Linked DNA regions of Homo sapiens: region 1 is linked to region 2. The links are contacts of gene promoters, found by promoter capture Hi-C in human tissues and cell types (Jung and others, 2019). All regions are on one chromosome and are shown on one strand. The core of a region is centred on a gene start or on the middle of the fragment in contact, and the rest is flanking DNA. Distances in the headings are between cores, read along the strand shown.

Region 1 (4,460 bases), core at 30-2,529, 260 kb after region 2:
TGGACTCCACAGAGGCCCTCCCACTGTCCTGTGGGCACTTCCAACTCTTGCAGACCTGGCTGCCCTCTCTGAGCCCACATCTTCCTCTGAAATCTCGATGTTCTTAGAAGGTGAAGTTGGCTTCTCTGAAATCTCAGTGTTCTTACAGGGTGAAGTTGGCTTATGATGCCAAGCAGTCATTACCTTTAAGGTGTTAAGCTATCTCAAGGAGTGCAGGGCAACTAAATTATAATGTAATTATCTTTTTAGATAAATAGTCCATCTCCTCTAAAATGTAAAACCTCTGGGGACAGTGGCCAATATTAATTGTCTGTGTTGCCTCACACCACAATACCAGATCAAGAAATGTTATCTATGTTGATTCCACAGCTAATTTGAGTAAACACAGTCCCCGCTAAAATGCTGAAAACTAGAGTGACGTTAGGGGGAGGTACCAGCTCTTCCCTTGCCATTAATTCCTGCTTCATTTTAAATGTCAATAGATTTTTCTTCTGAAACCAAACTGAGGGAGAGAGAGAGAAAAAGACAAGAGAGGAGGGCCAATGCCAAGGATAAGTTTTACCTACTGAGTCAGTATTGTACTTGGAGCTCACATTCATCACACTCTGGCTGCATTTTATTAGCTAGATTATATAATACCATATGCCTCAGTTTCTCATCTGTAAAGTGAAGATAGGCATTCCTTCCTGTTCTAATATTACAACTTACCTTATTAGTAGGCAGTAAGGTGGGGGAAAGTGCTCTCTTCACTAAAATATGAGAAAGTGAAGAAAAATCATCAGATATTTTAAGGAAACTCTTTAACAAAAGATGAAGACCAAAATGGAAAAATAAGTAACCAAGAGGAAGTAGAGAAAATTTTTAAAAACACACATAAAACAAACAAATCCTGTAAGTAAAATCTTTGAGGAGATGAGAAAAACTATTGATTGTATCCGTGAAATAAGAAAAGGATGCTCTAAAAAAGAAACATTAAGAGAATAAGGAATAAATTTTGGAAATTAAAAATGTGGTAGAAATAAATTCAGTAAAAGTTGAAGTCCAGATGAAGTTACAGAAATATTTCAAAAAAAGAATAAAAGGACCAAAAGATGGAAAAAAATAGAAACAAAAAGATAAGGAAACTAGATCAATACAGGAGGCCTAACATTCAAGTTGAATTTCTGAAAGAAAGTACAGAGATAATAGAGAGGTAAAATTATTTAATAATATGGTACAAGAACATTTCCCAGAATTAATTGGGATGACTTCCCAGACTGGAAGGACCAATTGGGTGCCCAATACAAAGAAGGAAAAATTTTTAGACCAAAGCACATAATCATAAAATTTCAGAAACTCATGAATAAATAGAAACTTCAAAACACTTCTAGAAAGAAAAACAGGTCCTTTACCAAAATCAGGAATCAAAAAGGCATTGGACTTCTCAAAAATAACACCGAAAGTGAAAAGGAAAGAGAGCAATGTTTACAATTCTAAGGAAAAATCATTTCCAGTCCAGAATTCTATATCCAGCTAAACTACCCACCAAGTGTACAGATAGAATAAAGGCATTTTCAGAAAGCAAACTTTTCACAGTTGTATCTCTCATGGACCCTGTAATAGAGGCTGGTGGCTCACCCAACAGCCATTCTTGTCATTCTTACATATTAATTTTTTTCAGGCATCACACAGCAACATGCTTCCAGAAAGCCAAGCCTCTCCCCAGCCTGAAGGAATAGCTTTGATTAATCTAAGCTAAAAACTGATCATTCCTTATCCCCTGCAAATGATTGGCTTAGAAATGAACATGCAATACAATTAAGATCAATTAAACCTGAGGAATAGTCTTCTAGAGGTATGGAAATATTTTTTTCACGTTAAAATGCATAAAAGGAAGGGCCTTACTTTTTCAGCCTTTGGATGTAATTGTGTGAGGACATGATGCTCCAAGTTGCTGTATTTATCTTATGACTCCAAGGGAAGAATCCAAATGCCAAGGATGACAGAGAAGAAAGATGGAAAGAATCTGGGTATTTGATGATGTCACTGAACCACAGCATTAATTATACCTGAAACTGGGCAACATTCAGGCTTCTTGTTATGTGAGTGCCAGAATGCAAACTCTCTGCACTTATGGTAATCTTTCAAGCTAAATTGTATAATAAGAACAATAATAATTAATGAAAATACCTACCATTGATTGAATACTTAGATACTGTTCTATGATCTTTTGATTAATGGCTATAATAAGCCTGTGAAATAAGTATATTAATCCAGTTTGCAAACGAGGAAATATAGGCTCAAACAAGTAGGCAAATGAGCCAGATTTATATCCAGTCCTGACTCCAGTGACCTAGTATTTAACTTTGATTCCACACTCAGGGCTTGTCAGATAATACTCAGACATATGATAGGCACCTGTGTCCATGGATTTGGGAAAATGTTTGGAAACAAAATATGCTGAGCTCAAACATGCACTTAATAACTACTTTTAATTCACTTCATCATTTGTCAGCATAGTTCAATTCTGTGATAACCAACTTTCAGGACTGGCCCCAATGATTCTCTTTTCCTATTATTTACACTTTTTGTTGTCCACTCCCATACTAAATAGGACTGAACTGTGTAACCAGTAGTATAGTATGGAAATGACAATGTGTAACTTTGAAGGCTAGATCATAAAACATATTGTGTCTTCTGCCTTGATTTCTCTTGGATCACTCACTTTGGGAAAAGAGAGTTGTCATGTCATACATACTGAAGAAGCCATATAGAGAGGCCCATGTGTCAAGAAACTGAAACCTCCTGCCAATATCCATGTGAGTGAGCCATCGTGGAAGTGGATCCTCCAGCCTCAGTCAAACCTTCAGATGACCACAACCCCGGCTAACACTTGAGCCATAACCAACCAGCTAAGTCACTACTGAATTCCTGACTCACAGAAACTGTGAGATAATAAACGTTTATTGTTGTAAGCTGCTCAGTTTGGGGATAAATTGTTACTCAGCAGCATATAACTTAATATTCTGGGTAATTAAATAAGCCTTCCCTTAATTTTAAAGGTAAGAAGTCACCTTAGATTTATCACTTGATGTTTTTCAAAGGAAAATATGTGGTCCTCACCACAATCCTGTGGAATTAATAGGGAAAGTGTCTTTTCAGAAAACAGATCGCAAAAGAAAAAAAGAAAAGAAAACAGATAGATCATCAGACAGACTTACTCAAGCTACCGGAGGGCCAAAATTAACAGAAAAAGCATTCAGGATCTTTTTCATATGCCTTGCCAGTATCTCTGTTAAGAAGTTGGCTTAGGCAGAAAGACCCTGAGAATCAATACAAAATAAAATAAAAATGAGAAAAATCCTTAAAGCGTCCCTAACATAAAAATATTTCCAGGCTGGGCAGAGTGGCTCATACCTGTAATCCCAGCACTTTGGGAGGCTGAGGCAGGCACATCACCTGAGGTCAGGAGTTCAAGACCAGACTGGCCAACATGGTGAAACCCCGTCTCTACTAAAAATACAAAAATTAGCAAGACTTGGTGATGCGCACCTTTAATCCCAGCTACTTAGGAGGCTGAGGCATGAGAATTACTTGAACCCAGGAGGTAGAGGCTGCAGTGAGCTGAGATAGTGCCACTGCACTCCAGCCTGGGTGACAGAGCGAGACTCCATCTGAAAAAAAAAAAAAAAAAAAAAAAAAAGTCTGTTTCCTCAGAGGCAGTCAGCATCCTATCACACTTCTGCTGCTGTCAGGCCTCTGCCCCCTTCTGGTTCTCACAGTGCACATGACTTTATGGTCTTGCATCTGATTCAAAGTTGTAGACAGTCATCAATTTTGAGAACATTCATGTATTGTGAACAGTGAAACTGTTAATGGTTATGGTGTTTATAGCTTGGGTTCAAACAGGAAACTAATAAAGATAAAATCACTGTTTGATAAGGTGCTCAAACCCCAGTCAATGGAAAGCCTGTTGCACAACAAGACTCTGACTCCATCATTGGACCCTAGATCCATTCTCAGAAAACACAGTTAGGAGGGAGTTAAAGTGAACAGAGCTGATGTGTTTCTCATAGAACTAATAATATCAAGATGATAAGTGCTACTTTTGGACAATAATGATTGAGTGAGTGAGCGAGTGGCTGAGTCTGCTTTTTGTGAGGCATTAGCTCTATAGAGTTTGTTTTGGTTTCCTGTTTACTTTGAAAGAGCAAGCAAAATCTTTGGGGCCAAAACTGATCTGACAGAAACCTCAGTTGATGACCTTGGCTTGAGTTAGGGCAAACTCTTGCAAACGAAGCCTTTTCTTTCCTCGAGAGGCAGTAAAGTTGTACTATATATGGCCTTTCACGAGCAGTCATCTGCATCAAGGAACTTGGCAGAAAGGCAGCCTGAGTTTGTTTCTTAAAAGTAATACACATTAAAGTCTGGAATGGGCTGCAGAGCACATACCCATCTGCAGCCGATGTTGCTACAGGTGT
Region 2 (4,593 bases), core at 1,626-4,125:
CTCAGCCAGAAGTACCCAGCTAAGCCACTTGCAGTTTCTGACCCTGATCAGAAACCCTGAGAATACATTTTTGCTGTTTCAAACTTCAAAGTTTTGGGGTAAGTTGTTATGCAATAATAGATCATTGATACACTTGCTTCCTCATTCCCTTCAAGTTTTTGCTGCAATCTCACCTTCTCAGAGATGCCTTCCTTAACTCCCCTATTTAAAATGGGGTGCTCCCCAGTCCCCATCTGTGATTTATTGTTCTCCCTGGCACTCAATCACTTTCTAATTCTCTGTATAACTTACATATTTTATTGCCTTTCTCCTCAATAAAATACAAGTTCCGTGTTTTATTGGTAGTTGGTAAATCTGTGCTGGCTAAATACATGAACACATGCCTCTGCTTTATGCTTCTACAGTCACTGAATTCGAGGTTTTTAATCTTGTTCTGATGCTGTTTTTCTAAGGATTCGGTCTGGCTTTTATCTTTTTCACTACCACACAGGCCAGGGAAGACCACTAGATAGTGACCAGGCCACGCAGCTTCTCTCCTAAGGCTAGGTGGGCTACAAAGATAAGTACCTCAAAGGCTGGTGGGTATGTCTTTCATACATAATCGATGATCAATTTCCAAGGAGTTTAATTTAGTCAAACAGGCTCTCATAGACACAAACAGTGAGAACAGCAGATATACCAAGTGGAGGCTAATCTGATTGTCCTTGGTGCCAGGATATTCAAGTCTGTCATGGGTGGTGAGCCTGCAGTCATGTGGCACCAGAGGGGCAGCTGTATCAACAGGCCCCTTGCAGGCCTGCACATGACATGGCCAGAGATTCAGTTTCAAATAAGGGGGAAGGGAAGAATGAGTAGGGAAAGGACAAGGAAACCCTTTTGCACAATGAAGAGTTGTTCACAGGCCTGTGTCAGAGGGGACAAATCCTATAATGAGGGCCTGAGTTCTTAGAAAGCCAGTGCCTGCTGTTGTACAATCCACTCTTGGGTATCTGCCCATTCGCTGGACATGCTTTGGTGCCCTTCCAGAAGGTGGTATACCTTGACACTTGGACCAGGAAGGATATCTCCACCCCAAACATAGATTACTGCAATGTCCTTGGGACACAGTGCCTGTATTGTTATAATAATCTAAACGTGCTTGGCATCACAAGGCCATGAGGGCGTTTTCTGGGTTCACAGCATGGTGTGTTCTCTGAGTGACAGGTGTGCTGCGGGAGAAACACTGAATGGTCAGCGCATCTGCATCTGGCTCAGGCCTTCTCTGCATGTCAACCAGCTGCAGAGGTTACTTTACCTCTGTCAGCCTGGACCTCAGTTTCCTCAACTGACAAATGACTGTTTTTCTCAGTCTCCTGTCCCCTGCTGCCTCCAACCTTTTCTGAACTGCTGGAGAGATGTAGCAAAGAACCACAAAGCAAGGGGTCGTGAGTGTTGGCATTGTTCATTTCGACAGTAATCAGGGCTGTTAGTTATGGCGGGGATTTACAGAGGTCGGGCACCCTGGCTATGAAAAAGTCCACCTTTGGCCACCCAGGCAAGTGCCCCACCAAATTCCAATGGCAAGAACTTGTCCGTTCTGCCTCCCTGGTGAACCCTAAAGCCCAGGTAACCCCCTCCCCTCTTTACCTCTCTGACTGGTTCTTTAAGTCTCTTCTCACCTCTGATGATTAGCTAAGCCTGCTTCATACTTTACCTTCAGTGAGCATGACCAGGAATCTCTTGTTGTATCAGGTAGGTAAAGTGCTTGCTTGCACATTGAAAAGTTTCATCCATTGGCCTTAACTCTAGATAGGGTTTCAGGCAAGGCAGACAGGAAGCTGAGAAGAGAAGGCAGGGCTGGGAAGTCCCCGTGGCTCAGGGCACCTCTGCGCTTGGGCAGAGAACCCTTGACTCACCTTCCACCGTGCCCTGACCCCTGGTGTGGAAACTAGCACAGTTGGATCCGTATCACGTGTCACGGGGCTGGTTACAAATAGCACAGGGATTGGCAAACTCATCCCGAAACTCCCGGTTCAAGGGCAGGGAAAGTTACCAGTTTAATTCCGGCAGATCATTAGTGGTGGAGAACCAGGAAGGGGGTTCTATCGCAAAGGAGGGCTGTGCGCAGACACGTGGGTGCGGGAGGGGCAGAGCTGGTCCGGCGCGGGGCTTGCCGCGTCTCGGCCTCAGTCTCGGAGCCAGGACCTCAGGCCTGAATGGCTGGGTGTGGAGGGCCCTTGTCTCACATTCTGTAGAGCGCACGTCGTCCCGTGACCTGGTGGCTCCATATTCGATGGGGAGCTCGCAGCGAGTCGCTTCCCTCTGTAACCCCACTCCAGGTCTCCAGAGCAGTAGGAGGGCCACAGGGCTGCTGGGTGTAGTCGCCCCGGACCTCGCGGTGGCCAAGGCCAAGGCGGCCGGGGCACGGTACCCTGTTCGGCCTGGGCCGCAACCACGAAGGAGGCGGTGGAGGCGGGGGCCGGCGCTTCCTCCGCGCCCCCCACGCCGCCGCTCTCTCGCGCCCCTATAGAACTGGGCCTCAGGCCTCGAGGGGGAGCGGGCCTCGGCGGGCGGGGCGCACAGTTCCGCCAGCCGGCGGGGGCATCTCAACTCGCCGGCCCCGCCAGGTGTGCGGGCCAGGCAGCCGTGGAAGGTGCCCATTTCTCCCAGATTCCTCGCGCGCACGGCCACGAGCGCGGAGGCTGCCAAACCCGCCAGCCCTGGGTTCCGAAGCCGCCCCTGGCTCTCCATTCCCTCGCGGGCGCGCCCCGGGCCCCCAGTGGCGGCCAGCTCCCACCGGTCGCTCCTGCACTGCCCTGCCCTGCCCTCCCCGGGCCGCCGCGCCCGCGCAGCACCGCCTCCTTCTCTAAATACTGCCGGGTCCGCCCTCCGCACCAGGACGCGCGGTGGGTAGGGTGCAGGGCGGCCGGCGCAGCCGAGGCCGCGTGCGGAGGCGGACGCCGCGCCCAGCCAGTGCCCACAGCAGCGCGGTCAGCCAGGCGCCGGACCCAGCTTCAGGTAAGCTGCCCCGGCCCGCGCGCCTGCGCCGGCGGCGGCGGGTCGGGCGCTGAGCTGTGCGGCCAGGCTGGGCGCGGGGAGCCGCGGCAGCGCGGAGGCGCTGGGTATCCGAGCCCAACCTGCGTCCCTGCGAGCCCCTCCGGCTGTTGCTTGCGCTCGGGCTCCCTAAAAGCCGCAAACCGATTTCGCACAGAAGGCATTTGCCTCTCGTTTCGTTCCCCAAACGCACCATAGCTTTGGACGTGGAGAGGTGCTGTGAATTTTGGAAATGTCTTTTGGAAAACCAATAGGAGTGTTGGAGAGGGGAGTTTGGCTTTGGGGAGTTTAAGTGTAGGGTGGTGTTTGGAAAAGGTTTCATTGCGAGTGAATGTGGGTGTCTTTGTATCCGTTTGTGAGTGCATCTGTGGGAGAAGGAGAGAGAGAGAGTATTTCCACACTATTATGGATCAGAGGTGAACACTCAGCCAGGTGCTCCGTCCACTAGTCCACGGACAAGAAACTACAGATTCAGTTTTGGGCTTCTATTTACTGGTGTTTGGGAATTTGCCTTAAGACAGTTGAAGCCTTGTGACTCACTGCAAAGTTGACTATACTGGGAATAAATGAATTCCTGATAGGACTTTGCAGCCGAGAATCACCCTTCTCTTTCTTGTCTCCGAAACCGCAAAAGAGATTGCATGATTCAGGAAAAAAATTAAAACAACAACAATAACAAAAAACCAATATATATAGGTTTCAGGACTCTCCATCGTTTCATTCCACTGAGAGTTTTGGAATGTACTCCCTGTAGGATAAATGAGGACTACTGTATACTCAATATGAAATTCTTATTCACTGCAGGATGTTACTGACTTAATAAAAAATGGGAAGATTAAAAAATTAGTGCAATGCTTTGTCTCAGCTTAACTGCATCTGTATATCAAGTTTTTCCAAGTTTGAAATGAAAGCTTTTTTCCCTCCTATATTTCCTTTTTTTCTCCAACTTCCTTCTGATTCTATCATACTTTTTCCTGGAAAAGTTTTTCCCAGTGTAAGATTGCCTGTTTGCTTTCTTTACCTAAACTGACCTTCCCTCAGTGTGATTTTGGTTTGTCAAGATCATCTTGGGCTTAGGGCCTCAGTCTTGAGTTCCTTCATGGGACCATGGATGTGAGCGGCACAAAATATTTTAAAAGTTTTCTTTCCTTGGGCAGGTGAAAATAGTCTTCACGATTTTGGATTGTCTTTGCAATTGCAGGACCTGACTTACGGGGTCCTGGTAAAATATCCCATTCATTGGAGTAAAATAAGATAACGAGATAATTAGGTCAGCTCTGTGTAAGCTAGACAACTCTTTAACAACCACTTGGCATATTTAATATATTATACCCCTGAAGTACAGGGCTTGGGTGATTTTCTGGAAGGTGCTTTCTCACTTGATTCCACTTATACTATTCTTTCAAAGCCAAGTTCCCCCCTTCCACCCATTTTGTGCTTTATAACTAGCAGTTTTATTGGCTGCTTGTTTTTTAACTGAGTCTCAACCTCTTTGTGGAAGTAGGTGACACCATGGAGGAGGGTGAGTGAGAGGCCACACCAGCCTTTGGGTACCTGTCC

What was found. The method cuts DNA at HindIII sites, captures the fragments that hold promoters and counts their contacts. A contact is called where the count stands out against the background at its distance.
Region 1: a contact is called between a fragment that was not itself captured here and the fragment with the promoter of TMEM171 in region 2, in 1 of the 25 tissues and cell types used here (aorta).

What each region holds. Positions count from the first base shown.
Region 1 is chr5:73,383,530-73,387,989 of GRCh38, forward strand. No RefSeq gene overlaps it. Among named protein-coding and RNA genes, the nearest start is that of LINC02230, 48 kb to the left of the region's middle. The HindIII fragment of the contact is 7,475 bases long and covers 1-4,460 here.
Region 2 is chr5:73,117,700-73,122,292 of GRCh38, forward strand. It overlaps TMEM171 (transmembrane protein 171), which reads left to right and starts at 2,876. Exons shown (of 4, transcript NM_173490.8): 1 at 2,876-2,997. It overlaps LOC124901001, which reads right to left and starts at 2,792. Exons shown (of 2, transcript XM_047417978.1): 1 at 1-2,792. The coding sequence starts at 2,730. The coding sequence ends at 2,029. RefSeq lists an enhancer at 1,715-2,266. The HindIII fragment of the contact is 7,583 bases long and covers 1-4,593 here.